Linked DNA regions of Homo sapiens: all the other regions are linked to region 1. Evidence: promoter capture Hi-C in 16 types of primary human blood cells and fetal thymus (Javierre and others, 2016). All regions are on one chromosome and are shown on one strand. Each heading gives the region's core, a stretch centred on a gene start or on the middle of the fragment in contact. The rest is flanking DNA. Distances are from core to core; before and after follow the strand shown. Region 1 holds the start of CD4 (CD4 molecule). Region 2 overlaps PLEKHG6 (pleckstrin homology and RhoGEF domain containing G6). Region 3 holds the start of LOC107984500 (a long non-coding RNA gene). Region 4 holds the start of SCNN1A (sodium channel epithelial 1 subunit alpha). Region 5 overlaps LTBR (lymphotoxin beta receptor). Region 6 has its middle 29 kb from the start of CD27. Region 7 overlaps CD27 (CD27 molecule).

The links. Contacts are between HindIII fragments. The CHiCAGO score rates a contact against its expected background, and 5 or more counts as called.
Region 2: a contact is called between a fragment that was not itself captured here and the fragment with the promoter of CD4 in region 1, in 2 of 17 cell types (non-activated CD4 T cells and total CD4 T cells). The highest score is 5.7, in non-activated CD4 T cells.
Region 3: a contact is called between a fragment that was not itself captured here and the fragment with the promoter of CD4 in region 1, in 2 of 17 cell types (activated CD4 T cells and naive B cells). The highest score is 6.8, in activated CD4 T cells.
Region 4: the fragment with the promoter of SCNN1A here is called in contact with the fragment with the promoter of CD4 in region 1 in 1 of 17 cell types (naive CD8 T cells); the score reaches 7.2 in naive CD8 T cells.
Region 5: a fragment that was not itself captured here is called in contact with the fragment with the promoter of CD4 in region 1 in 1 of 17 cell types (total CD8 T cells); the score reaches 5.8 in total CD8 T cells.
Region 6: a contact is called between a fragment that was not itself captured here and the fragment with the promoter of CD4 in region 1, in 1 of 17 cell types (total B cells). The highest score is 6.2, in total B cells.
Region 7: a fragment that was not itself captured here is called in contact with the fragment with the promoter of CD4 in region 1 in 3 of 17 cell types (activated CD4 T cells, non-activated CD4 T cells and naive CD4 T cells); the score reaches 6.7 in activated CD4 T cells.

Annotation. Positions count from the first base shown.
Region 1 is chr12:6,787,280-6,791,180 of GRCh38, forward strand. It overlaps CD4 (CD4 molecule), which reads left to right and starts at 2,249. Exons shown (of 10, transcript NM_000616.5): 1 at 2,249-2,383. RefSeq lists enhancers at 1,733-2,290, 2,106-2,155. The HindIII fragment of the contact is 6,468 bases long and covers 1-3,901 here.
Region 2 is chr12:6,324,791-6,328,691 of GRCh38, forward strand. PLEKHG6 (pleckstrin homology and RhoGEF domain containing G6) reads left to right here. Exons shown (of 16, transcript NM_001384598.1): 14 at 1,638-1,783; 15 at 2,464-3,156; 16 at 3,346-3,716. The coding sequence ends at 3,355. Among named protein-coding and RNA genes, the nearest start is that of TNFRSF1A, 15 kb to the right of the region's middle. RefSeq lists an enhancer at 1-306. The HindIII fragment of the contact is 6,493 bases long and covers 1-3,901 here.
Region 3 is chr12:6,347,649-6,351,549 of GRCh38, forward strand. SCNN1A (sodium channel epithelial 1 subunit alpha) reads right to left here. Exons shown (of 13, transcript NM_001038.6): 9 at 1,679-1,757; 10 at 1,516-1,573; 11 at 1,302-1,357; 12 at 1,079-1,154; 13 at 1-605. The coding sequence ends at 225. LOC107984500 (a long non-coding RNA gene) reads left to right here and starts at 533. Exons shown (of 4, transcript XR_007063191.1): 1 at 533-619. The HindIII fragment of the contact is 4,954 bases long and covers 1-3,901 here.
Region 4 is chr12:6,373,807-6,377,707 of GRCh38, forward strand. SCNN1A (sodium channel epithelial 1 subunit alpha) reads right to left here and starts at 1,757. Exons shown (of 13, transcript NM_001038.6): 1 at 1,699-1,757; 2 at 562-1,031. The coding sequence starts at 977. It also overlaps a transcript of LTBR not described here. RefSeq lists enhancers at 164-768, 2,585-3,189. The HindIII fragment of the contact is 18,398 bases long and covers 1-3,901 here.
Region 5 is chr12:6,390,911-6,394,811 of GRCh38, forward strand. It overlaps LTBR (lymphotoxin beta receptor), which reads left to right. Exons shown (of 10, transcript NM_002342.3): 10 at 1-656. The coding sequence ends at 27. Among named protein-coding and RNA genes, the nearest start is that of LTBR, 8.7 kb to the left of the region's middle. RefSeq lists an enhancer at 1-563. The HindIII fragment of the contact is 2,950 bases long and covers 421-3,370 here.
Region 6 is chr12:6,413,732-6,417,632 of GRCh38, forward strand. No RefSeq gene overlaps it. Among named protein-coding and RNA genes, the nearest start is that of CD27, 29 kb to the right of the region's middle. The HindIII fragment of the contact is 2,514 bases long and covers 351-2,864 here.
Region 7 is chr12:6,445,656-6,449,556 of GRCh38, forward strand. All of the region lies in intron 2 of CD27 (CD27 molecule), which reads left to right. It overlaps CD27-AS1 (CD27 antisense RNA 1), which reads right to left. Exons shown (of 6, transcript NR_015382.2): 2 at 2,985-3,082; 3 at 2,382-2,495; 4 at 1,306-1,432. Among named protein-coding and RNA genes, the nearest start is that of CD27, 2.7 kb to the left of the region's middle. RefSeq lists an enhancer at 461-580. The HindIII fragment of the contact is 2,383 bases long and covers 1,461-3,843 here.

The sequences.
Region 1 (3,901 bases), core at 999-3,498:
CTTTGGGGACAGCTAAAGCGATAGCTGAGATCTGAAGAATGAATAAAAATTACCTAGATCAGTGGTTCTCAGAGTGAAGTGTGGCCTGCAGACCCTTGGGAGTCCCTGAGACCCTTTCAGGGGATCTTCAAGGTCAAGCTATTTTCATAAAAAAATACAGGATGTTATTTTCCTTTGTCACTATGTTGACATTGCAATAATGTTGCAAAAACAATCTGGATAAAACTGCTGCCTTAGCATAAATGAAGGCAGTGGTGCCAAACCATATGATAGTCATTGCATTCTTCACTGCCAGGTACTTACAGTAAAAAAAGAAAAAAAATTAATGCCACTTTTACTTAAGAATGCCCTTAATGAGGCCGGGCGCAGTGGCTCGTGCCTGTAATCCCAGCACTTTGGGAGGCCGAAGCGGGCAGATCAGGATCACCTGAGGTCAGGAGTTCAAGACCAGCCTGGCCAACGAGTGAAACCCTGTCTCTACAAAAATACAAAAATTAGCCAGGCATGTTGGCGGGTGCCTGTAATCCCAGCTACTCGGGAGGCTGAGGCAGGAGAATGGCTTGAATCCAGGAGGCGGAGGTTGTAGTAAGCCGAAATCATGCTGCTGCACTTCAGCCTGGATGACAAAGCAAGACTCTGTCTCAAAAAAAAAAAAAAAAAAAAGAGAGATCAAGACCATCCTGGGCAACATGGTGAAACCCCATCTCTACTAAAGATACAAAAATTAGCTGGGCATTGTGGCGCATGCCTGTAGCCCCAGCTACTTGGGAGGCTGAGGCAGGAGAATTGCTTGAACCCGGGAGGCAGAGGTTGCAGTGAGCCAAGATCACGCCACTGCACTCTAGCCTGGGCAACAGAGTGAGACTCCCTCTCAAAAAAAAAAAAAAAAAAAAATATATATATATATATATATAGAATGCCTTTAATGAAGCAGTAAATACTAATTTTATTAAATCTCAACCCTTGAGTACGGTGTGTCATGAAATGAGAAGTAGCACACAGTACTATATGCTACAGATGAAGTACAATGCTGTCAAATAGGGGTACTTGTGTTAATTGTTGGAGTCGCAAGCTGAACTAGAGTTTTCTTTTCTTTTCTTTTCTTTTCTTCTTTTCAAGACAGGTTCTCACTCTGTCACTCAGGCTAGAGTGCAGTGGTGCAATCACGGTTCACTGCAGCCTCAACTTCCTGGGCTCAAGCGATCCCCCCACCTCGGCCTCCTAAAATGCTGGGATTATAGGCATGAGCCACCACTCCCAGCCCCACTTTTTTCAGACTGGAAAACGCACACTCACATGTGCATCTTTAAATGATCACTTGGGCTGTGGTATGGAGAATGGCGACCAGTGAGGAGGCAGGAGCTGTTGTCCGAGCAAGGGATGATATTGGCATCTTGGATTGGCATGGTGGCAGTAGTGGTAGTGCAGAGTGACTTGGGTAGATTTTGGAGCCATTTAGAAGGTAACATCCACAGGAACTGGTAAATAAATACGTGGGAGAAGTTGGGTGAAGGGGGTGTCAAAGATTACACCCAATTTATTTTGCTTGGGCAAGTTGGTGGATGGTGAGCCCCTCACTGAGTGAGAAGCCTGGAGAAGCAGGTTTGGAGGGTGGTAGTATGCAGGTGGTATGCATAGTTGGGGATGTGTGTTGAGTTTGCTATGTCCGGTGAGCTTCCCAGTGGAGATGTCCAATGGGCAGACGGATACTCACATAGAGAGTTCATGGTAGATTCGGGCTAGAGGAAAGCACCTGAGGCCTGGCCAGAGACGCCTAGAGGAACAGAGCCTGGTTAACAGTCACTCCTGGTGTCTCAGATATTCTCTGCTCAGCCCACGCCCTCTCTTCCACACTGGGCCACCTATAAAGCCTCCACAGATACCCCTGGGGCACCCACTGGACACATGCCCTCAGGGCCCCAGAGCAAGGAGCTGTTTGTGGGCTTACCACTGCTGTTCCCATATGCCCCCAACTGCCTCCCACTTCTTTCCCCACAGCCTGGTCAGACATGGCGCTACCACTAATGGAATCTTTCTTGCCATCTTTTTCTTGCCGCTTAACAGTGGCAGTGACAGTTTGACTCCTGATTTAAGCCTGATTCTGCTTAACTTTTTCCCTTGACTTTGGCATTTTCACTTTGACATGTTCCCTGAGAGCCTGGGGGGTGGGGAACCCAGCTCCAGCTGGTGACGTTTGGGGCCGGCCCAGGCCTAGGGTGTGGAGGAGCCTTGCCATCGGGCTTCCTGTCTCTCTTCATTTAAGCACGACTCTGCAGAAGGAACAAAGCACCCTCCCCACTGGGCTCCTGGTTGCAGAGCTCCAAGTCCTCACACAGATACGCCTGTTTGAGAAGCAGCGGGCAAGAAAGACGCAAGCCCAGAGGTAAGGTGGTCAGACTCGGCTTCCTTCCCCGGAGCTGAGAGGGAGGGGAACGTGGGGCAGATGCACAGGAATGTGCTCTGCCCAGTTGTCTGCCCACAGCTCTGGCCACCTTCTCTTGCATTTCTCTTGGAACTGGTCATGAGCAGCGATTTCCCACTGGAACTGTGAGCTTCCAGAGGTCAGAGACTGTGCTAGACTCCTCTCTGCAGCCCCAGCGTGCACAGCTCAGTGTCCAGAGCAATGGGTGCTCCTTAGAGGAGTAGTGACCTAAATAGCAAGATCAGAGAGGGAGTGAAGACTGGAGACTATCCCAGGCTGGGAAAGGCGTGGAAGGCAACTAGTCGTGGGCAGTTGAGGGGAGAAGACTGGAAGAGGGGAAAAGAGGAGAAAAAGAGTGAAGAAGGGGAGGGAAAAAATTAGAAAGAATAAATAAATATAAGGTGGGAGGAAACCTATAAAAAAGAAATGATGAGGAAAAACATAAAAACAAGAAAAAGAGCAAAAGAAGTGGAATCTAGTCTAGAGAAAATTCTTGCAAAACCAATTTTCCTTAACGGGACAATCTCCAAAAATTGACACCAAATATCATACTTGCAGCATTTCATAAGTCGCATGATCTATGTAATAGTCTCTTTTAACTACCTTTTGTGTTTCTGTGTGTATTTTTAAATTTTTGTCTGCTTCTTTGCTCTTTTAAGATTTTTGAACAATGTCTAAAGGCACTTCTACTCTAGTTAGCTTTAAAATGATTCATGAAATAGGAAAGCTAAAATTCTCAGAAAGTGTTGAAACTGAGCTTTTGCGTATGAATTGCCCTAAAAGTTGCAGATACATATCTTTAGATAAATATGTCATTTAAGAAACGGATTCGAAAAGAATTGGTGGTAGGGGTCTCATGAGGCCGGGAGAGTTACAGAAGGATGTGCAGCCCCTCCTGGGCCTGGCAGGGTGTGAGGGAGAGTGAGGACTCACTGTCCCTCCTGAAGGGAAGCCCTGTGCCATCTCAGCCTTTCCGCCCTCAGACCTTTCCAGCCCCTGAGACCTCATGGCCTTGAAGCCGTGCTATCCCCAGTGTCCTCTGCTTTCCCCTCATAGGCTTCTTCTGGGAGAGAGGTTTCCTGGGGTACGTTCTGATCCCTCAAAACGGAAAGGCCCTGTTCTCAATAATTCAAAGATTTCACTCTGAGTGGGATAGTGCTTCCTGAATGCCCTGCTCTTGTGGTGGACATTTTTATCGGGGCAAGGCTAAGAGCAGGGCCTGATGGGGGAAGTCACTGCTACTTCACATTTTGACCAATAATTCCTTGTGCTGTATCAGATGCTGTAGGCTGATACAAAATGGCCGCCGCCCTCAAAGTCAGATGAAAGAGCCCCTGAGGACAGCGTTAGAGACACTCGGGAGATGATTTCCCTCTTTCAATGTGGGAGCACTTACATAGGAGAGGTCTATATCTAGATAAAAACTCCTCCCACCACTGGTGCTAGACAGAGCTTGGGGGCAGCCCTAGGCTCTGACCC
Region 2 (3,901 bases), core at 731-3,230, 460 kb before region 1:
GGGTTTCTTGAGAGGCTTTGGGAAAGTCCAGGTGCCCAGGAGTTGCTGGCTCATATACTTCAAGCTGGGGAGATAGTGGAAATATTTAACAATTAGTATAGCATGGGCATCAACCAATCAGAAAGGAGCGCTGCACTAGAGGTCCTCTGCTGTGCCAGAGGTTATCTCCCTTAGTTGCTAGATCATGGGGATGGGGGAAGTGGTTGAGGCCCAGGCAGCAGCCATTCCCTTACCAGCATGGAAGACTTCAATATTTTAACAAGGATATGGCCATACCAGCAAGTCCTGATATCAGTGCTGCCCACAGCAGCCACCAGTACCTCCCTTTTGCCAAGGCTTGCCTCCGCCTCCAACCTCAGCTCTGCCACCTTCTCTTCCCTCTCCCTCCCCCTCCCCCTCCCCAAGCCAACAACCGACCTTCTGTAACTCTTTACCCTTCAAGGCTGTCCTTGAAAGTGTTGCAGTGACTGAACTAGGACTCAAAGAGCAAGGCCCTGTCCCAGCTCTGCTTCTCCATACCTGTGGCACCTTGAGCAAGTCACTTCACCTCTCTAGGTCTAGGTTTCTTGTCTGTAAAATGGGCTAACATTCATGTTCTCCACACCACAGGGCAATGATGTGTATCAAATGACCACATGTGCAAAAGTGCTTTGAAAATTTTTTCTCAGGTGGCGCTATTTCCTTTTGATGGTACCTGTATGAAATCGCTGAGGGAGGGAGAAGGCAGATAATATAATGCGTCCTCTCCTCAGCCTTCTAGGAACTTTCCTCCCTCTGAAGGACAGCAGAGTCCTCAGCCTGGGACAAAGCCCACCTCTGCCCACGTTCTGCCCTCCTGCTCCTCCCAGCTTCAGGGCAGAGGCCCAGGTGGTAGGAGAGGGATGCTCTTGAAGGAGCAACCAGTACCAATTCAGAACACTTATTCTACCATCACCACCAACCAGGGAGGGCTTCCTGAAGGAGGGGGAAGACCTGATAACAGGTCTGCCAATGGGACATGAGAAGCAGGAAGACCTGTACAGGTAGGAAAAGGGCCATTCTGTTCACCCCACTCACCCCCAACACTAGCTCCAGAGTTTGGTGCCACCAAATCCCGGCACCACCCCACTTTCTTATGGTAAGAAGTACCCCCTCAGACAGTTACTTAACCTTAGAGTCTCCATGTCTCAGTAGTAAGGTGGGGTAAAAATATCTGGTTCATGGGGTTTTTGTAAAGATTAAATAAGGTAATGTAGGCCGGGCACGGTGGCTTACACGTCTAATTCCAGCACTTTGGGAGGCCAAGGGGGGTGGATCACAAGGTCAGGAGTTTGAGACCAGCCTGGCCAAGATGGTGAAACCCCATCTCTACTAAAAATACAAAAATTAGCCGGGCACGTTGGCGGGCGCCTGTAATCCCAGCTACTAAGGAGGCTGAGGCAGGAGAATCGCTTGAACCCAGGAGGTGGAGGTTGCAGTGAGCCAAGATTGTGGCACTGCACTCTAGTCTGGGTGACAGAGCAAGACTCAGTCTCAAAAAATAATAATAATAATAAAATAAAATAAGGTAATATATGTAACGCACTTAGCAGGGTGCCTGGCAAACAGCAAGTGCTCAATAAATGAGAGCTCTTAATAACGAAAGTGTCCTGTCCCAGGCCGCCCTACAGAAGCTGAAGGCAGAGGAGTATGTTCAACAGAAGAGGGAGCTCCTGACCCTCTATCGGGACCAGGACAGGGAGTCCCCCAGCACCAGGCCCTCCACGCCTTCCCTGGAGGGCTCTCAGAGCAGCGCAGAGGGGAGGTAAGGCTCACACGGACTACAAGGTCTCCCCGAGCAGGAGGAGGGAGCCATAAGGCTGAGAAATGGCATTACTGCACATTTTTGGTGGAATTGGGAATAGATAGAGGAACGCAGGCGTAGGGCAGGGTAGGGAAGCTCGGTACCAGCTGTGTTGGGTCGGAAGGTTGGTACCAGCCGTGTTGGGTTGGAGGTGGGGGATAGGGCACAGACAGCCTACAGAGTTAGCCTGCCTAGAGTCACACAGGAGCACTGTGAGAGGAGCAAGCTCGAGAGTGAAGGTAGGTGTGGATCTGCAGAATATTAGAGCTGCCAAATCCCCGGGGAGTGTGAGGTTCGTCTAGGATAGCACCACTGCTTGGCAGCAGCTTAAGGAGAAAAGAAGAATCGATCATTGAGGATAATATCAGGTAAGTTCAGGAACCACTCAGCAAAAACCTGACTACCCACTCGATACAAGATCCTGGACCAGATGCTATGGATAAAACAGTATAGAGGCAGCCCGTACTCTCTTAGGAGCTTAAAATCTAGCCAGCCAGATGAGAAAAACAATCACAGTGCGATGGAAAGATGATACCAAAATAAGTTTGGAGGAGGGGCCATTTCTGGATGTAGTGATCAAGGGAAACTCCCTGGACTTGAACTTGACCCCTACGCATCTGACTCTTTGCCATTAACTGTAGGACTCCTGAGTTCTCGACCATTATCCCCCACCTGGTGGTGACAGAAGACACAGATGAAGATGCTCCCCTTGTGCCAGATGATACCTCAGACTCTGGCTACGGCACTTTGATCCCAGGCACCCCCACGGGGTCCCGCTCCCCACTGAGCCGTCTACGCCAAAGAGCCCTTCGGCGGGACCCTCGCCTCACCTTCTCCACCCTGGAACTCCGGGACATCCCTCTGCGTCCCCACCCTCCCGACCCCCAAGCTCCTCAACGCCGAAGCGCCCCCGAACTGCCGGAAGGAATCCTAAAAGGAGGCAGTCTTCCCCAGGAAGACCCACCAACCTGGTCTGAGGAAGAAGATGGGGCCTCCGAGCGAGGGAATGTGGTGGTGGAAACACTCCACAGGGCCCGGCTTCGGGGCCAGCTTCCCTCCTCCCCAACCCATGCTGACTCTGCCGGGGAAAGCCCCTGGGAGTCCTCAGGGGAGGAGGAAGAAGAGGGGCCTCTGTTCCTGAAAGCTGGCCACACATCCCTGCGCCCAATGCGGGCTGAGGACATGCTCAGAGAGATCCGGGAGGAGCTGGCCAGCCAAAGGATTGAGGGGGCCGAGGAGCCCCGGGACAGCAGGCCACGGAAGCTGACTCGGGCCCAGCTGCAGAGGATGCGGGGGCCCCACATCATTCAGCTGGACACCCCTCTGTCCGCATCGTAAGTGCTGGAGGGAAGCTGGCCTGGGAGGGGGCAGACGGGGATGTCTGTATGGTGGTGGGGTGTAGTATAGAAAGAGGGCAAAGCAGGAACAGGGGCTGAGGCAGGAAGGGCTCTCCGCCTCACTCTTCACCTGACCCTCACCCGTTGCCACTGAATGTCGCCTAACACCCCCTCCTGTCTTTTCAGAGAGGTATGAGGAATGCAGAGGACCTTTGGCATGCATCTCTCCCAGAGGAGATCTCTCCCCAGTAGTGCTGGTCACCCTCCGGCATCTGTGACTCTACCTCAAGGACCACATTTCCCAAAGGAAGCCTGGCCCAGGCACCCTGCCTCCTGCTCTGTTTGGGGATCAAGAACTGTAAATTTATGTATCATAGGTGCACCTGAGCCCCACAGAAAGTTGTGCATAAAAATGACTGCCCTGGCTGGGCATGGCTGCCTGTAATCCCAGCACTTTGGGAGGCTGAGGTGGGAGGATCCCTTGAGCCCAGGAGTTCCAGACCAGCCTGGGCAATATAGGGAAACCCTGTCTTTACAAAAAAAAATTTTAAAAATTACCCAGGTGTGGTGGTGTGCCTGTGTCCGGAGGCTGAGGCGGGAGGACCCCATGAGCCCAAGGGTTGGAGGCTGCAGTGAGCGCACTCCAGCTTGGGCAACAGATGACGGTGTTCAGAACAAGAACCTGCTACTCCTCTGTCACTTGGCGTGATGGTGATGGGCTACCTGGCCCTAGTGCAGGGCT
Region 3 (3,901 bases), core at 356-2,855, 440 kb before region 1:
CCAAGGGGTACAGGGCTGGAGCCAAGGCACTTCTGGGCAGCTTCATCAGCTACTGTTCTTGGAGCAACTTCCTGAGCCCTTACCCATCTTGCTTCCCCTCCACACATCAACGGCAGTTTGGGCGGCTCTGAGAGGAAGCCCTGCACATCCTTCAATCTTGCCAGGGCCAGCACCCTCCCACCAGAGGAGCATCTGCCTTGGTGTGAGAAACCTCTCCTTCCCTCTCAGGGCCCCCCCAGAGGACAGGTGGAGGAACTGGCCCCTGCAGAGCCCCCTGGAGATGGGCGGGGGCCCAGGGTGGCATAGGCAGGGGGAGGGGCTGTCAAGGCTGGAGAGGGAGCAGGGCCTGGCTGGGACAAGGACAGAGACATGGGGTGGGGGCAGAAGTGGGAAGGAGGGGAGGATGCCAGGGTGGAGGCTACCTCCTGAGCACCCCTGCCCCCTCGGCCTGGAGACCAGTATCGGCTTCGGAACCTTCGGAGCAGCATGAGGAACATGATGACCAGCAGGTCAAAGACGAGCTCAGCCATCTCCACCACAGACAACACCGAGGAGCCGAACCACAGGCTCCACTGGCTGCCCAGGTTGGACAGGAGGGTGACCATCTGTGAGAGGAGAGGTACATTGACGATGGGACAGAGGGTTCTGGATGGACTCTGGCAGAGGAGCCCCCTTCCCTCCTCACCAAGCTGTCTCCCTTCATCCCTGAAGACCCCCGAGTCCTCTCAGCCTCTCAGCAGCCCCCTGGGCTCTTTGTCTCTGCTCCTGGCCAGTGTCACCCAGAGAAAACTGATAACTGGCCCACAGTTAGGGGCAGCTGAAATGGGGGCATGGGTCAAGCGCCTTCACCCCAGCATCTAGCATGCCTGTCCCTCCCACCACCCCCAGAGACCTTATGCCCCGGCCGAGCTCCTTCTTCCAACCCTCCCAACCTCTCCCTTGACCCTCTTCTTTGGTCCCCTGCCTTTGAGACTCAGAGCCTTCTGGCCCACAGAGACAACCTTTTGGTTTTCCCCGACAGCCGCCCTGCTAAGTAAGACCCCCAGAGCATCACAGGCTCCATCCAGGCACGACCTACCGTGACAGAGGGAGACTCAGAATTGGTTTTGTAGTTCAGCTCCTTGAAGAAGATGTTGACTTTGGCCACTCCATTTCTTAGGTGTGGGGCAGAGGGTGGGAAGAAATGGTAGAGGATGAATTTCCTGGACCTTCCTCTAATCAACCATATCGATCCCTCTTCTTAGGTCTATTTTCCCTCCCAAAGATTCCCTTCTTGTGGCTGGGACCAGGGCAGGACTGACCTCTTGTTGTTGACGGTGTAATTGTTCTGTCGCGATAGCATCTGGAAGACCCATTCCTAGGAAAGAATGGGGGTGTCATCAAGGTCACTCCCATATGCTTCAGGCTTACAGGGATAGGGTTGTGTCAAACACACTCATACACATAATACCCAGAGAAGGCCACAGCATTACATGGGCACACACATCCCCCACCCATCCCTTCCCCACACTCTACCTGGGATGTCACCGAGGGCCATCGTGAGTAACCAGCAGAGAGCTGGTAGCTGGTCACGCTGGGGATGGAGAAAGGTGCTCAGTGTTGGGGCAGAGCTCTCCCAAATGCTTGGCTCGGTAACCTGTATTCTACCCAACCTGTACCCGGGGAAGGGGACACTAACCTGCATGGCTTCCGGCACTTGGTGAAACAGCCCAGGTGGTCTGAGGAGAAGTCAACCTGGAGCTTATAGTAGCAGTACCCTGTGGGTACAGAGAGATGCCTGTTCTCCTAGGGCACCTCAGCTTTCTCTACCCCACACCCAAGAGGTCTCCCAAGATCCCTGGGTACCCACTTTACAAGAGCATTATTTAGCATTATAATGATGCCTTATGAGTGGCAGTACCAAGAAGCGTTTAAGAAATTAAGCTAAGCCAGGGACAGTGGCTCAGCACTTTGGGAGGCCGAGGTGGGAGGGTCGTTTGAGGCCAGGAGTTCAAGGTTGCAAGTGAGCTATGAGTGTGCCTTTGTACTCCAACTCTGGCAACAGAGTGAGACCTTGTCTCTAAAAAAAAAAATTTTTAATAAATTAATTTTTTTTTTAGACGGAGTTTCGCTCTGTTGCCCACGCTAGAGTGCAGTGGCGCAATCTTGGCTCACTGCAAGCTCCGCCTCCCGGGTTCATACCATTCTCCTGCATCAGCCTCCGGAGTAGCTGGGACTACAGGCGCCCGCCACCACGCCCGGCTAATTTTTCGTATTTTTAGTAGAGATGGGGTTTCTCTGTGTTAGCCAAGATGGTCTCGATCTCCTGACCTCGTGATCTGCCCGCCTCGGCCTCCCAAAGTGCTGGGATTACAGGTGTGAGCGACCGCACCTGGCCTAAAAAATAAATTAATAAAGAAAGAAAATAAGCTAAGTCAGGCGAAAAACAAAACAGGATACACCAGTGTAAGGAAATATATGCTATGGACAAAAACATAAACGCCATAAAGAAAAATGGGAACAGGCCGGGCGTGGTGGCTCACGCCTGTAATCCCAGCACTTTGGGAGGCCGAGGCGGGTGGATCACGAGGTCAAGAGATCGAGACCATCCTGGCTAACACGGTGAAACCCCGTCTCTACTAAAAATACAAAAAATTAGCCGGGCGTGGTGGCGGGCGCCTGTAGTCCCAGCTACTCGGGAGGCTGAGGCAGGAGAATGGCGTGAACCCGGGAGGCGGAGCTTGCAGTGAGCCGAGATCGCGCCATTGCACACTCTAGCCTGGGCGACTGAGCGAGACTCCGTCTCAAAAAAAAAAAAAAAGAAAAGAAAAATGGGAACAATAATTGTATAAGAATAAGGGAATTAAGCCACAATAAGATACCACTTCACACCCATTAAGATGTGTGTTATTTAAAAAAAGACAATAGGCTGGGTGCGGTGGCTCACGCCTGTAATACCAACACTTTGGGAGGCTGAGGCAGGTGGATTACCTGAGGTCAGGAATTCGAGACCAGCCTGGCCAACATGGTGAAATCCAGTCTCTACTGAAAATACAAAAATTAGTCGGGTGTGGTGGTGCACACCTGTAATCCCAGCTACTTGGGAGGCTGAGGCAGGATAATTGCTTGAACCTAGGAGGTGGAGGTTGTAGTTTGCCAAGATCGTGCCACTGCACTCCAGCCTGGGCAACAGAGTGAGAGTCTTCTCAAAATAAATAATAAATAAATAAATAAATAAATAAATAAAAATTTAAAAAGACAATAACAAGAACTGGCAGGATGTGGAGAAACTGAAAACCTCTTATACTGCTGCTAGGGATGTACAATGGTGATGTCACTTCGGAAAACAGCCTGGCAGCTCCTCAAAAAAGGTTAAACATAGATTACCATATGACCTAGCAATTCCATTCCTAGGTATATACCCAAGAAAATGGAAAACATGCGTCCACACAAAAACTTGTACACAAATGCTCACAGCAGCATTATTCACAATAACCAAAAAGTGGCAACAACACAAATGTCCACTAACTGATAAATGGGTAAACAAAGTGTGGTCTATCCATACAAGGGAGTGTTGTTATTCAGCCATATAAAGGAATGAGGCACTGCTATTGCTACCATACGGATGAACCTTGAAAATATTATGCTAAGTGAAATAAGGCAGACACGAGGGTCACACACTCTAAGATTCCATCTATATGAAAGATTCAGAATAGCCGGGCGCAGTGGCTCATGCCTGTAATCCCAGCACTTGGGGGCTGAGGTGGGCGGATCACCTGAGGTCAGGAGTTTGAGACCAGCCTGACCAATATGGTGAAACCCCATCTCTACTAAAAAATACAAAAATTAGCTGGGCTTGGCAGCATGCGCCTGTATGTAGTCCCAGGTACTCGGGAAGCTGAGACAGGAGAATTGCTTGAAC
Region 4 (3,901 bases), core at 507-3,006, 410 kb before region 1:
CTGCCCCCAGCCTTTGGGCTCACTTGCAGCCCTAACCTCCACGATCCCCCTCTTTGCTTTCTCCATAATAAATTCCCCTTCTAAACAAAGACTGACAGCACCACCTCCACAGCACCTGCACGGTCTCGCCTCCCCTCACCTAGCCTCACCCCTCCATCAGACTCTCCTGCTGAGGTGGACGAGGTCTTATACTTTGCTGGCATCTTGCTCCAGAAAAGGGATGCAGCTGAGCACACCCCTGCCCTTTTGCAAGCACTCCCTCCCACTTGCAGGAGGGAGAAGGGAATGGGAGGGAAGGAGAAGAGAGGGCAGGGGAGGGCAATGCTGCTCCAACAACCACACTCTGGGTGAGCCTGGGGTGCTAGGATGGCTCCACTGGGCAGGGACGCCAGTCCAGTAAGCTGGAGGCTCCTCATTTTGCCAGCAGTGAGCTCTACCTGGGACAGGGGTGTCAGTTCCCACCCTCAGGTCTGAGGCTCTGCCTGCCCAGTGAGCACCTCAGCACCCTGGACCACCCTTCCAGGCGCAGGCACCAGGGAAGGGGCAGAGGGACTAACCGACCTGTAGGGATTGAGGGTGCAGATGGTCACTGCGGGGAAGACGAGCTTGTCCGAGTTGAGGTTGATGTTGAGGCTGACGGGGTAGCTGAAGTACTCTCCGAAAAGCAGGCCGAATTGCCAGTACATCATGCCAAAGGTGCAGAGCCACAGCACTGCCCAGAAGGCCGTCTTCATGCGGTTGTGCTGGGAGCACACCAGGCGGATGGCGCCGTGGATGGTGGTGTTGTTGCAGAAGAACTCGAAGAGCTCTCGGTAGGAGCGGTGGAACTCGATCAGGGCCTCCTCCTCCGCCGTGGGCTGCTGGGGCGCCGCAGGTTCGGGGCCCAGCCCCTGCTCCTCACGCTTGTTCCCCTTCATGAGCCCTGGAGTGGACTGTGGAGGGCTAGAGTCCTGCTCCTCCAGCTTGTTCCCCTCCATGAGACCTGGTATGGGCTGCAGAGGTCTAGGGTCCTGCTCCTCCAGCTTGTTCCCCTTCATGAGCCCCGGAGTGGATTGGGGAGAGCAAGGGTCAGGGTCAAGGCTGAGCTCTGGGCCCTGAGTGCCCTCTCCCATCACCCCTGGAACCCGAGTGAGGCTGCCCCTGGCCATGCCCATGTCCCACCCTGCGCCCACATTCTCCCACTCCTCCCTCCCTCCTCCACCTTTCCTGGAGCCAGCAGACCTGCGGGAGTTGGGGCCAAAAGTGCCGGAGCTGGGCTTCCCTAGAACGGCCTCTCCTCTGCTTCCCTGATAGGGCCACCTTTCGAGTTTTGTCCTAGCACCTCCCTTTCTGTCTCTGCCCCCTTCCTTTGGTCTTCTTCCTCCAGGATCTGTGTCTCAGCTCCTGCCTCTCACTCCCTCTCTATCTGCCTTCTGTTTCTCTTTGGGTCTCTCCTGCTCTCCTCTTTCTGGCCTGCCTCCTCTCTCTAATCCTGCCTCTCTTCCTCTCCCCCCCTTGCCTTGCCCCCTCTCACTCTAGGCCCTCAGCTCCAGCCTCTGGCCCTGACCTCGAGCTGTGTCCTGATTCTGTCTCTGCCCCAGGACTGCAGGGCTCCAGGAGGTCTGGGCTGCCTCCAGCTTCCCACTCCCAGGTTGCGGCTGGACTGGGACTGGTTCCTTTCCAGTTGAATCTGGCAGCCAAACCTCTCCTCCCCCTCACCTGACAGGTGCAGCGGCCTGGCTGGGGAGCCCGCCCGCTGGCCGGCCAGGGATGGAAGCGACAGGAATCTCATTAGCATCTCAATTAAAGGTGAGCAGGGCGGGGGGAGGGGCTGAGGAGGAGTCAGAGCCGGGAGTTTTCCGAAGGAAGGAGGGCTCCCGAGGGCAGGTGAACTGGGAGTACTGGACCTGAGAAGGCGGACTCTGGGCAGGGGCTTTAGACGCAGACAGGCAAGGAGGCTGGGGGACAGGATGGCAGGTGAGGGGCAAAGATCTGAACAAGTAGAAGGATCCTGAGCCCACAGCTAGGAGGGCAACACAAGGAGAAGGGGCCAGCCAGGCTGAGAGGGCCTGGGTGGGGAACCGGGAGGACAGGAGGGCAGAAAGAGGGAGACAATAGAGAGGGACAGCGAAGGACAGAGAGATAGGGATGGAGGAGGGGCACTGAGTGAGTAGAGGCAGGTGGGGGGCAGTGGTGGGGGCAAATAGAAGGAGCCAGCACCAAAGGGAGTCTGTCTCCAGGAAGGAGAGCAAGGGGGGAGTCCCAAGTGTGCTTCCAGGAGCTAGAGGCTCAGCAAGTGGGCAGCCCTCCAAGGGCACCCACAGGTCAGCCTCACCCTCAGGCCCTGCAGAGAAGAGAGAAGAGGTCTCTGCAGGTCTCCTCCCCGCTCACTAAGTGGGAGCAGCGCACTCAGGTGGGATGCGTCTGCCTCCTCCTGGTCCCTCCTCTTTCCTGCTGATTCCTCGCCACCCCCTCCAACCTTGTCCAGACCCGGGAGGGGCCCAGGTGAAGCTGGGGGCTAGGCGGGGCCCTAGGACATTCTGTTCTTTTTTACACTGTTGGCTGCCAGGCCAGGAATGTGTAATCGCCCCTGCTGTGGTCACAGAGTTGCAGGAATGTGGGCAACCAGAGGCAGCGCGAGGGCCACGCAGGACACTGTGGACACAGACCCGGAGCCCAGGAAGAGGCAGGGAAAGCAGGCACTGAAGGTGCAGGGAGGATGTGGCCAGCGCTGGAAAGGAAGAGGGTGGGCATGGCACACGCCTAGACAGGCCCTGGGAGGAGGAGAAATTCGTTGATGGGCTATATTTTCTCCAAAATCTCTTTCCAAACTTAATGCAGCAAAAGGATAAGGAGTGGAGTGCCAAGTGGTGAGCAAGGAGAGAGAGGAGGGTCAGAGAATCAGACCCAAAAAGGGCTGGAGGAGACTCGGGAGAGCCACCCACACAACCCAGGCCCTGCACGCGGCAGGGAAGGCTGCCGCTTCCTCACGGGCCCCACAGGAGGCAGCCCAGAGTGCAGGAATGTGGTCACTGGCTTGTCCTGCCTCCCTCCACAAGCCAGCAGACAAAGGCCCAGCCTGAGCATTGATACACACCGGGGGAGGAGATAGGCCTGCAATACAATAAGATAAGGTTTCTATTTGTACACTTTAAAAGATTGTCTTTAAAACGGACTTCTAACAAAAGTGCAGATCTCAGATTTCTCAGAGATAAGACATAAGAGCCAAGGGCTAGGGGAGCCTAGGGGCTCACTGCAGGAGACTCAGGAAGCCTTCCCAGAGAAGGTGTCATCTCTGCTGAATCTTGACAAGCAAGGAGTTTAGCAGGCAAAGAAGAGAAAAGGCAGTACTCCAGGCTCAGGGTCCAACCTGGTCTGTGGCTTCCTCTCTTGCGGCAGTCTCTTGCGACTTCTTAAAGTGAAAGCCGGTGTCAACCAGGATTCCAAACCAGGTTCCCTTGCTTACCTTGATACTGCTCATGATACCTCCCCTTGGAAGGGACAGCTGGATTTTTCTTCATTGTCCTAATGAAGAAACTGACCCTTCCCAAGGATAAATCAGTTTTCTGAGGTTAGAAAACAAAATAGGAGCAGAGCTATAAACAGAATTCAGAATTCTCCTCCTCCTCTGGGGCTATCTACTTAGCGCTTTTGCCATTTACTTCCTGAGACAGACTCATGGGGGATCGGGGCTCAGGTGCACCTGGATGTGAAAGCCGGGAAGGCCTCCCTCACTCCCACACAGAGCCCGTGGATTCGTCTGCTCTCTGGGTGCTGGGTTATCTCCTTGGCTCTGTGAAAAGGTCTCTGCACTGTCCCCACTGCCCCACATATCCCAGAGACCCCTAGAAACTCCAGTCTCCCTTGAGCCAGGTCCTTACATTGGGCATGGTCCTCCCTGCAATAAGGTGCTCAGCACCCT
Region 5 (3,901 bases), core at 646-3,145, 400 kb before region 1:
AGGAACCAATTTATCACCCATGACTGACTGAGTCTGAGAAAAGGCAGAAGAAGGGGGGCACAAGGGCACCTTCTCCCTTGAGGCTGCCCTGCCCACGTGGGATTCACAGGGGCCTGAGTAGGGCCCGGGGAAGCAGAGCCCTAAGGGATTAAGGCTCAGACACCTCTGAGAGCAGGTGGGCACTGGCTGGGTACGGTGCCCTCCACAGGACTCTCCCTACTGCCTGAGCAAACCTGAGGCCTCCCGGCAGACCCACCCACCCCCTGGGGCTGCTCAGCCTCAGGCACGGACAGGGCACATGATACCAACTGCTGCCCACTACGGCACGCCGCACCGGAGCACGGCACCGAGGGAGCCGCCACACGGTCACCTGCAAGGACGTCACGGGCCCCTCTAAAGGATTCGTGGTGCTCATCCCCAAGCTTCAGAGACCCTTTGGGGTTCCACACTTCACGTGGACTGAGGTAGACCCTGCATGAAGATGAAATTATAGGGAGGACGCTCCTTCCCTCCCCTCCTAGAGGAGAGGAAAGGGAGTCATTAACAACTAGGGGGTTGGGTAGGATTCCTAGGTATGGGGAAGAGTTTTGGAAGGGGAGGAAAATGGCAAGTGTATTTATATTGTAACCACATGCAAATAAAAAGAATGGGACCTAGATAATTTATTTTCTTGGGATTTATACAGAAACACTATTCCATGGAGACAATCTCAAAGACAAAGGTCAAGACACTAAAATATAATCCCATAAAGATATTTCAGTGAGGAGCTGGTGAGTATAGTCCAGGTAATAACAGTCTCGTCAGTGATGGCTGACAACGTGCCAGGCAGTGTTCTCAATGCTTTACAGTACTAACTTACTTAATCTTCACAATAACTCCCTAAGGTAGATATGATTCCCATTTAACAAATGAGGAAACTGAGGCACAGAGCGGTAACTTTCCCAATTCAGCTGCAAATGACAAAGCTGGGATTTGCACCTAGTTCGTCTGGCTTTTAGAGGCCTCTTGGGGAAAAAAAAGCCTTCATATACCACGCCCTTCCAGAATTTCTTTGAACGGGTAGAATGGTCTGGCCTTCTCAAATAATCAGATCTCTTGCATGTTCCGCAGGTGTTACTTTTCAGTCAACTCTCAAACATCTAGCCACACGCGAAGTGAAAAATGTTCTCCAAGGTTGATTGAAGGGAAATGTGTGCAATTTTTTTTTTTTTTTTTGAGACAGGATCTAATTCTGTCACTCAGGCTGTTGTGCAGTGGCACTATTATGGCTCATGGCAACCTTGAACTCCTGGCTCAAGGGATCCGCCCACCTCAGCCTCCCAAGTAGCTGGGGCTATAGGTGTGTGCCACGACGCCCAGCTAATTTTTTGTATTTTTAGTAGAGATCAGGTCTCCCTGTGTTGCCCAGGCTGGTCTCGAACTCCTGGGCTCAAGCAATCCTCCTGCCTTGGCCTCTGAACATGCAGTGATTACAGGCGTGAGAGCCACCGTGCCTGACCTGAGGTGTGCACTTTAGACATAAAATGAGAGAGGCCAAGTTCACATTTTGTTGGTGAACAGAAATCTAGGCTGGCCTCCTTTTGGTTCAGAAAGAGTATTTATGATTTTTACTTTTTTGGTTTCTTTTTGTCTTCTTTTATTTTTACCCCCAAAAAGGACTTTAAATCTTCTCAAGCCCTCTTATTAGTAAATGTTTGCCCCTCCCTGCCCCTGAATTCTCTCCTGTGCTCGGTCGAGAGGATCTTAGCTTGCAGGATTGTTAGGGAGCTGCTGCCAGCCGGCTGCTCCTTCCATAAAAGGCCACTCTCATGGGTCTGATATGAGGAACTCTGTCGCTGGAGCTCATCAGGGTGGGGCGGCTGCAAAACACACACCTCAGAAGGCGTCTGATCCAATGGAGTGGATGGGTCATTTAAGGTTGACTGTGAAAATATCACATCCAACTTCCTTTTTTGAAAAGTAAATAATGGTGAGCTGTATCTTTAAATAAAGTTAAATCCTCCTGCCCCTGCAATATGCTGGGGCCAGACCTCATGAATTCTTAATAATTGTTCTAATGTGTTTAGATAAAAAACAAATTTTATACATTTTTTTCAACAAAATAAAAGGAGGAAAATATTTTGAAAGAAATGATGCTGAAGCACAGCCCTTTGTGACACCATTCAAATTTATAATTATACCTGCCTGTATTTTTTTAGAGACAGGGTCTTACTGTGTCGCCCTGGCTTGAGTGCAGTGGTATAATCGTGGCTCATATAGCCTCAGCTCCTAGACTCAAATGATCTTCCTACCTCAGCCTCCCACGTAGCTAGAGCTACAGATGCGTGCCACCACACCTGGCTAATTTTTTTTTAATTTCTTTTTTAAGAAGTGGGGTCTTGCTATGTTGTCCAGGCTGGTCTCAAACTCCTGGGATCAAGTGATCCTCCCACCTCAGCCTCCCAAAGAGCTGAGATTGCAGGCATGAGCCACTGCACCTGGGCTGCCTAAATTAATTTTCTAGGGCCGCCATAACAAAGTACTGCAGACTCGATAGCTTAAGCTGCAGAGATTTATCTTCTCACAGCTCTGGAGGCTGGAAGTCAGAGGTCAACGTGTTGGCAAGGTTGGTGTCCTCTGAGGCCTCTGTCCTTGGCCTGCTAATGGTGGCCTTCCTGCCACCTATGTCTTCACATGGTCTTGCCTTTGTGCATGAGTGTGTCCTAATCTTCTCTTAGTGGATTAGGGCCCATCCTGATGACCTCATTTTAACTTAGTCACCTCTTTAAAGCCCCTGTCTCCAAATAAGGCCCCATTCTGAGGTCCTGGGAGTTAGGGCTTCAGCACGTGGATTTTGGAGGGAGACACAGTTCCACCCACAGCATTACCCATGTCTATTTTGCCAGTGTGGAGTCAGTACAGGCTCCAGGACACATCCACAGAGCACAGGCCACGTAGAGGGGAGCTCCTGTCTACAAGGAAAAGCTGGCAGAAAACCAACAAAGACAGCCTCTTGATGGTGGTCTTCAAAAGATGCAACAGGATGCAATGGCAGTTGACAATGGGGTAACTGTTGGTTGTGAGAACCCTAATCCTCTACCACAGGGAGGAGAAAGCTAACACCAAGTCCAACCCACATCAACACGGGGGTGGGACACCCGTTAGGGGGCCAAGGCTGTAGTCCAGAAGAAAGGTGGATGGAACTGGGGACAGAGCAGTAGCACAGGGAGATGGGGGAGGATGGGGTAATTCAGAATTTCCCTTTTTGAGAGTGGCATCAACACAATGTCAAAGTAGGAGTTCTCCGGCTTCTCTCCTCCCCAACAGAATTTCAACTAGCAACAATCCTGTGGCAAGTTTACCACCCTGAATATCCCAGAACTTGGAGTGAAGCTTTGCATCCCCTGGGATGGCAGAGCCAAGAAAAACCATGAGGACGGTAAGGGGATGGCTGCTTTCTGACCACGCCACTCCTCCCCAAGCCCGCACAGTGCCACACGCAGAGGAGTCCCTGGATGCTCGGTTTCTCCAGTGGACACAGTGGATGGGAGGTGGGCGTTCGGCTTCCCCACCAGTCTGAGACTTCACAGGAGACTCACTCTAGTCTTTTCCCGCAGGAAGCACTGTGAGTACCGGCAGGGTCAGCCCAACAAGGGTCAGTAAGAACTTCCCTTTTCAAAAGATAAAGCGGTTCACATAGACAGCTGTGGTGGACTCTTTCTGCTGCCTGTCCAACAGACTTCTGCACATTTCCTAAGGACAGAACCGCATTTTTGTACTAGAGCAGAGATTCCGTGACATCAGGAGAAGAGGCCCTTCCCCCAATCCCAGGAGCCAATAAACTCATTCTTCTTTGCAATTGTACAATGACATGCACAGGGAAGTCTTCCTTTCCAGGGTATAAAGCACCATTAGGAGAAAG
Region 6 (3,901 bases), core at 358-2,857, 370 kb before region 1:
GTCTCACTGCAACCTCCGCCTCCCAGGTTCAAGGGATTCTCCTGCCTCAGCCTCCCGAGTAGCTGAGATTACAGGTGCGCACCAAGATGCCCGGCTAATTTTTTGTATTTTTAGTAGAAATGGGGTTTCAGCATGTTAGCCAGGCTGGTCTCAACTCCTGACTTCAAGTGATCGACCAGCCTCGGCCTCCCAAAGTGCTGGGATTACAGGCATGAGCCACCGTGCCCGGTCCTCTCCTTTTAATTTCTATGGGCTCTGTGGTGATGTCCCCTCTTTCACTTCTGACATTAGTAATTTCTGTCTTGATTTTTTTCTTGGTTAGTCTCACTAGAGGCTTACCAATTTTATTAAGCTTTTCAAAGAACCAGTTGTTGGTTTTGTTGATTTTCTCTACTCATTTCCTGTTCTCAATTTTATTGCTTTCTGTTCTAATCGTTATATTTCTTCTCTTCTGCTTGCTTTGGATTTAGTTTACTCTTTTTTTTCTAGTTTCTAAGGTAGTTGATTGTATAATAAATCTTTCTTCTTTCCTACTATAATGCATGCAATGCTATAAATTTCCCTCTAAGCACTACTTTCGCTGTATCCCACAAATTTTGATAAGTTGTGTTTTCATTTTCATTAGTTCAAAATATTTTAAAATTTCTCTTGCGATTTCTTCTTTGACCCACGGGTTGTTTGAATCACATTGTTTAATTTCTAAGTATTTTGAGATTTTTCAGCTATCTTTCTGTTATTGATTTCTACTTTAATTCATTGTAGTTTGAGAGCAGGCATTGCATAATTTCTACTCTTTTAAATTTGTTAAGGTGTGCTTTATGGTCCACAGTGTGGTCTATCTTGGTGAATGTTCCATGTGACTGTAAGAAGAATGCATTGCTGAGTGAAGCAGTCTACAGATGTTCATTATATCCAGTTATTTATGGTGTTGCTGATTTCAACTACATCCTTAATGATTTTCTGCCTGCTGGATCTGTCCATTTCTGGAAGAAGGATGTTGAAGTCTCCATCTCTAATAGTGGATTCATCATTTCTCCTTGCAATTGTAACAATTTTTGCCTCATGTATTTTTGATGCTCTGTTATTAGGTGCAACACAGCAAGGATTATGTCTTCTTGCAGAATTGACCCCCTTATCATTATGTAATGCCCCTCTTTCTGCCTGATAATTTTGCTTACTCTGAAGTTTGCTCCATCTGAAACTAATGCCCCTCTTTCTGCCTGATAATTTTGCTTACTCTGAAATTTGCTCCATCTGAAATTAATATAGCTACGCCCACTGTTGTTTTTTTTTCCTTTTTTTTTTTTTTCAAGATGGAGTCTTGCTCTGTCTCCCAGAGCTGGAGTGCAATGGCGCAATCTCAGCTCACTGCAACCTCTGCCTCCCGGATTCAAGTAATTCTCCTGCCTCAGCCTCCCAAGAAGCTGGGATTACAGGCACACGCCACCAGCCCTGGCTAATTTTTGTATTTTTAGCAGAGATGGGGTTTCACCATGTTGGGCAGGCTGGTCTCGAACTCCTGACCTCATGATCCACCCGCCTCAGCCTCCCAAAGTGTTGGGATTACAGATGTGAGCCACTGCACCCAGCCCCACTATGTTTTAATTAATGCTAACTATATCTTTCTCCATCCACTCACTTTTGGTCTGTATGTGCCTTTATATTTAAAATGGGTTTATTGTAGACAACATATAGTTGGGGCTTTTTAAAAATTCATTCTGACAGTCTCTGTCTTTTAATTGATGCATTCAGACCCCACTGACATTCGAGGTGATTATTGACATAGTTGGATTCATACCTATCATATTTGTTACTGTTTTCTCATTGTTGCTCTTGTTTGTTCCTACTTTTATCTTCCGCTCTTTTTCTGGCTTTTGTAATTTTAAGTGAGCATTTGTATTATTCCATTTTCTCTCCTTGCTCTTAGCATATCAGCTATACTTGTTTTTTTTCCATTTCTTTTATTTTAGTGATTGCTCTGGAGTTTACAATATACAGTTAAAACTAATCCAAGTCTGCTTTCAAATAACACCATACTACTTCACATGTAGTGCAAGTACCTTATAATAACAAAATAATCCTAATTACTTCCCCCATCCTTTGTATTACTACCATCATTCATTTTACTTATGTGTAACATATATATATATGACCAAATACACGATGCTATTATTATTTTGAACAAACTATTGCCTGTTAGATCAATTAAGATCAAGAAAGGCCGGGTGCAGTGGCTCACTCCTGTAATCCCAGCACTTTGGGAGGTCGAGGCGAGTGAATCATTTGAGGTCAGGAGTTAAAGACCAGCCTGGCCAACATGGTGAAACCCTGTCTCTACTAAAAATTAAAAAAAAAAAAAAAATTGGCCAGGCATGGTGGTTCACACCTGTAATCATAGCACTTTGGGAGGCCAAGGCAGGCAGACTGCCTGAGCTCAGGCATTCAAGACCAGCCTGGGCAACATGGCGAAACCCCGTCTTTACTAAAAATACAAAAAATTAGCTGGGTGTGGTGGTGCACACCTGTAATTCCAGCTACTTGGGAGGCTGAGAGGGGAGAATCACTTGAACCTGGGAGGCAGAGGTTGTGCTGAGCCAAGATCGTGCCACTGCACTCCAGCCTGGACAGCACAGAGAGACTCTGTCTCAAAAACATAAAAAATAAAAATAAAAATAAAATTAGAGAGTCCAGAAAATTAAAACGAGAGAGTCCAGAAAATTCTCACAGCACTAAAGTCTTATAGGGAAATCAGTTCTTTCCTTCATCCTTCTAAGAGATTCACTCATAGGTTCACTAAGCACCTGCTGGCATCAGGTGCCATGCTAGGGACAGGAATGTCTGCGACATGATTCCTACCTTCAAGAAGCTTGTAGACTATTGAAACAAACAAACATTGATACAATGTGTAACAGCATATGAAGCACAAGTTCTATCACTTTTAATCCTCATTACAACTCGCCATTTCCTCCACTTTTCAGATGTGGAAACTCTTTGACCACAACCTTCAATTCTTGCTCAACCATTCCCACTATGCCTCAGCCCCTCGCTCAGGACTGCCAGTCCTCTGCCTCCTCTGCTTGGTTTGCAGGCATCAGCTCCTTCCATTTTCACTTCCCTTTCTGTCCATCTTACATCCTATAGTCCACTGTTTTTGTCACTTTTGTTGATACTATAAAGTCCCTTGCTTTTCTGAACTTTAATCACACCTTTATGGAAACATCCCGCTTCTGGATGAACTGAACTATTTCCTTCTTCACATTTGCAGTGAATCTCTGAGTACCACGGACAGTCTCACATGTTGTGACTTCAAGTTTACGGTCCCACCAGGGCCTTAACACTGCCTGGCGATCCTGCTACATCCCAGTGACCAACCTGCTCCTTCCCTCCATGCAATGAGTGCTCACACCTCCTCTATGCAAATTTCCAGATGCTACCTCATCATGCTCTTGCTGTCAACAGATGACATGGAACCCATCTTCACCAAAAAACTCAACATCCTCCTTTACAATGACAGAGGTCCAGTTGTTGACAATACCAAATATGAGCAAAGATATGGAGCAACTGGAACTCTCATAAATTGCTGGTGCAAGTGTGTGGGGGAAACTCCCTCTAACTGTGTTTTTCCTCTACTCTCACACTGCAACATTCAACATAGAAGAAGACTTCTATAGCCAAATGTGTTGCAGGGGGTTCCCTACACACCAAGTGGCAGACACCAGCTGGCTGTCCTCTAATTCAGTTCCCACACTGTCTTCCCGACGCTGTCTCCCACAGCTTGAGGGCTTAGTCCGCAAGACTGCCCCCTGTCACACCAGTCACAAGCCCAAGCCTCTGGAACTTCTGATCAACTGGCTTCAAGTTGGGGTTCCCATGACCCCCTCTTTGGGTTCGACTAATTTGC
Region 7 (3,901 bases), core at 1,402-3,901, 340 kb before region 1:
AGCTTTGGCCTTCTTCAAGGCTCACAGCAAGTGGAGCCAATGCTGGGAAATGCGGCACCCTAGGTGGGGCATGAATTAACGTGGGCAGACATCTAGTATTCCAGGAAAGGGATAAATAGAATTTGAGGGATTGGTGAGAACGGGTCTATGGATAGGATCAAGACAATAAAATGAGAGAAGTGGCTCTATGACCCCAGATTTCGGGCAAGCAACCCCCAACCAATAAACTGACTGTGTTCCCAGAGTGCACATGTGCAGGTTGGCCATTGGGAATTTGGAATACATCTTTCTAAGGAAATAACAAAGCAACCCAATAGGTAACAACCTTTTTTTGCACAAAAGCCAATTTGAGAAAATGAGTATGTATGTAGCCTGTGTTTTTATTTTATAGTTCCAAAAAAAAAGGTTTTTTTTAAACTAAGAAGTATAATATCTGCAGTTGTGCTTATGAATGCTGTTATTATTTCTCCATCTTCGCTACAATTTCAGAAACTACGGCCAGTATACACTAGAATAGCAGGCTTTAAAGTGGCCCCTTTGAACAAATGTTCTCTAGCAAGACACTTTTTAGAACCAGGTAACTGTAACTATTAAACTACCTACTTGCAAAACGTGTTTGGTGTCACTGGGTCTCTTGGTACTGGGTTTTGTTTTGTTTAGTTTAGAGACAAGGTCTAGCTCTGTCACCCAGGCTGGAGTGCAGTGGTGCAATCATAGCTCCCCACAGCCTTGAACTCCTGGGCTCAAGCAATCTTCTAGTCTCAGCCTCTGAAAGTGCCAGGATTACAGGTGTGAGCTGTAGTGCCTGGTCCCGTAAAAACAAAAACAAAAACCAACACCAGATGTGGTGGCTCATGCCTATAATCCCAGCACTTGGGAGGCCAAGGCAGAAGGGTATTTGCATATTTTGTAGAGACTTGAGCCCAGGAGCTTGAGACCAGCTGGGCAACATAGTGAGACCTTGTCTCTAAAAAAATTGGCTGGTCATGGTAGTGCACCTGCAGTCCCAGCTACTTGGGAGGCTGAGATGGGAAGATCACTTGAGCCCAAGAGGTCCCCAAGAGGTCCAGGCTGCTCACATCACTGCACTCCAGCCTGGGTAACAGAGCAAAACCCTTTTTCACACACACACACACACACACACAAAAAGCCAGAGCAGTGGCTCACACTTGTAATCCCAGCACTTTAGGAGGCCAAGGCAGGCGGATCCCTTGAGCCCAGGAGTTTAAGAACACCCTGGGCAACATGGCAAAACCCTGTCTCTACTAAAAATACAAAAAGTTAGCCAGGCGTGGTGGCACGAACCTGTAGTCCCAGCTACTCAGAAGGCTGAAGTGAGAAGATCACTTGAGTCCAGGAAGTGGAGGCTGCAGTGAGCCGTGACTGTACCACTGCACTCCAGCTTGGGAGACAGAGTGAGCAGAGTGAGACCCTGTTTCCAAAAAAAAAAAGAAAACAAAAGCTTTTCCATTGCAAATCAACCAAAAAGGAACGTCTTTAATACACAAGAAATATTCTTCAGTCTACTTAACTTAAAAATGTAACTGTAATAGATGCTTTTCTCTTGACAGCGGCCCCGGCAGGGTTGGAACTTTTCCTAGTCAAAACCCCCCTACTCACTCTGCAGACCCTTCCTGAAGGTCTTCGCCCCATACTGAGCCCATCTTCAGTCCCTTCACTTGTTCCAAACTAGCCCAATCCATGACCCTTCTCTGGGAGCTCAGCCAATAGATCCCAAAGTACCACAGCAGCACCTGGCTGCAGAAGGACCCCCGGGAAATGCAGTCAGGGGTGAGAAGATGGGTGGGCTGAATGAGCTCGGCCCTCTCTGGGCCTTAGTGCTGGCATCTATGAGATGAGGACATGCCTGAAGTCAGCCTGGAATTTTGAGCCCAGGTTATACCTGGTAAATAGAACTCCCAGGTCTCCGGATACTCACCACTAAAACAATAGCACCTCATTGTTTTTGTTTTGTTTTGTTTTGTTTTTTAATTATACTTTAAGTTCTAGGGTACATGTACACAATGTGCAGGTTTGTTACATAGGTATACATGTGCCATGTTGGTGTGCTGCACCCATTAACTCATCATTTACATTAGGTATATCTCCTAATGCTATCCCTCCTCCCTCCCCACACCCCACGACAGGCCCCAGTGTGTGATGTTCCCCTTCCTGTGTCCAAGTGTTCTCATTGTTCAATTCCCACCTACGAGTGAGAACACATTGTTTTTAACCCTCCCCAGCAGCTTCTTTAACCCCTCCATTTCCCTTTTGGCGGAGACCCTTGTCATCACTCCTCTCTACCACCAGTGCTCTCCCCTCCTGCACTGTCCCAGGCTTCCTCATTCTTCCCTTGCAGGTCCTTATCCAACATGGCTCACAATTCCTGGGAAGCCACAAGGAAACCAAATTCTAGTAGCAACTCAGAGTCAGCATTCATTAGCAGGTCACAGGGCCATAAGGATGCCAAGAAGGAATTTGTCCCTCTCCTTGTCCTGACAAAAGGCATAAGTAGAAGAAAATTGTTAGGTTTGGTTATGACCTTTGACATTCTCTCTTTGACATCCTCCCTTTCTGCACCCCTCTTCCACCTGTCAGGGCACCTAGGGCTCCCCGGGTCCCCACAAGTGTCTGCCCTAAGGCCCACCAGGCTTTCTTGCAGCCTGTCCCACATCTGGGTGTCACTGCCTTCCTCTGAATCACCCTCCTCTCAAACCAGCCGCCAGCGAGCCCAGCCCAGCCCAGCTAGTGCCCTACCACACCCGCCCCCAGGATAATTAACACCCAGCCACCCAGCATCGGACCTCTACACTTGAGCAAAATGTATATTTTAAAGGCAAATTCTCACGCCTGTAATCCCAGCACTTTGGGAGGCCAAGGCGGGCGGATCACGAGGTCAGGAGATTGAGACCATCCTGGCTAACACGGTGAAACCCCGTCTCTACTAAAAATACAAAAAATTAGCCAGGTGTGGTGGCACACACCTGTAATCCCAGCTACTAGGGAGGCTGAGGCAGGAGAATCACTTGAACTCAGGAGGCGGAGGTTGCACTGAGCCGAGATCGTGCCACTGCACTCCAACCTGGGCGACAAAGCAAGACTCTGTCAAAAAACAAACAAACAAAATAAAGGCTAAGTAACTGTAATCAAGTAACTATTTATTATTTATTTATTTTAGTGTATCCACAGGTTGTGCAGCCATCAACACTATCTAATTCTATAACATTTTCGTTACCCCAGAGAAACTTGTACCCCTTAGCAATGACTCCCCATTTCTTCCCCCCAACCAACCCCAGCCCCAGCCCCAGCCCCTGGGAATCCCTAATATACTTTGTTTTGTTTTTTGTTGGTGGTGTTTGAGACAGGATCTCACTCTGTCACCCAGGCTGGAGCGCAGTATCATGATCTCAGCTCACTGTAACCTCCACCTCCCGGGCTCAAGCGATCCTCCCACCTCAGCCTCCCCAGTAGCTTGGGCCTACAGGTGTGCACCACCACACCCAGCTAATTTTTGTATTTTTTGTAGAGACGGGGTTTCACCATGTTGGCCAGGCTGGTCTCAAACTCCTGAGCTCAAGCAATCCACCCACCTCAACCTCCCAAAGTGCTGGGATTACAGGCGTAAGCCACTGCACCTGGCTATTTTCTTTCTTTCTTTTCTTTTTTTTTTTTTTTTGAGACGGAGTTTCACTCTGTTGCCCAGGCTGGAGTGCAGTGGCGTGATCTCGGCTCACTGCAACTTCCACCTCCCGGGTTCAAGCAATTCCCTGCCTCACCCGGCTATTTTATATTTGTTGATCTGCTGCTGGTTATGCCTGTGAGCCAAATTTGTACAAATTCTTAAGCTTTACAATCATGCGTGCCTCTCTGTACGTATATTATACTTTAATTAAAAGTTATT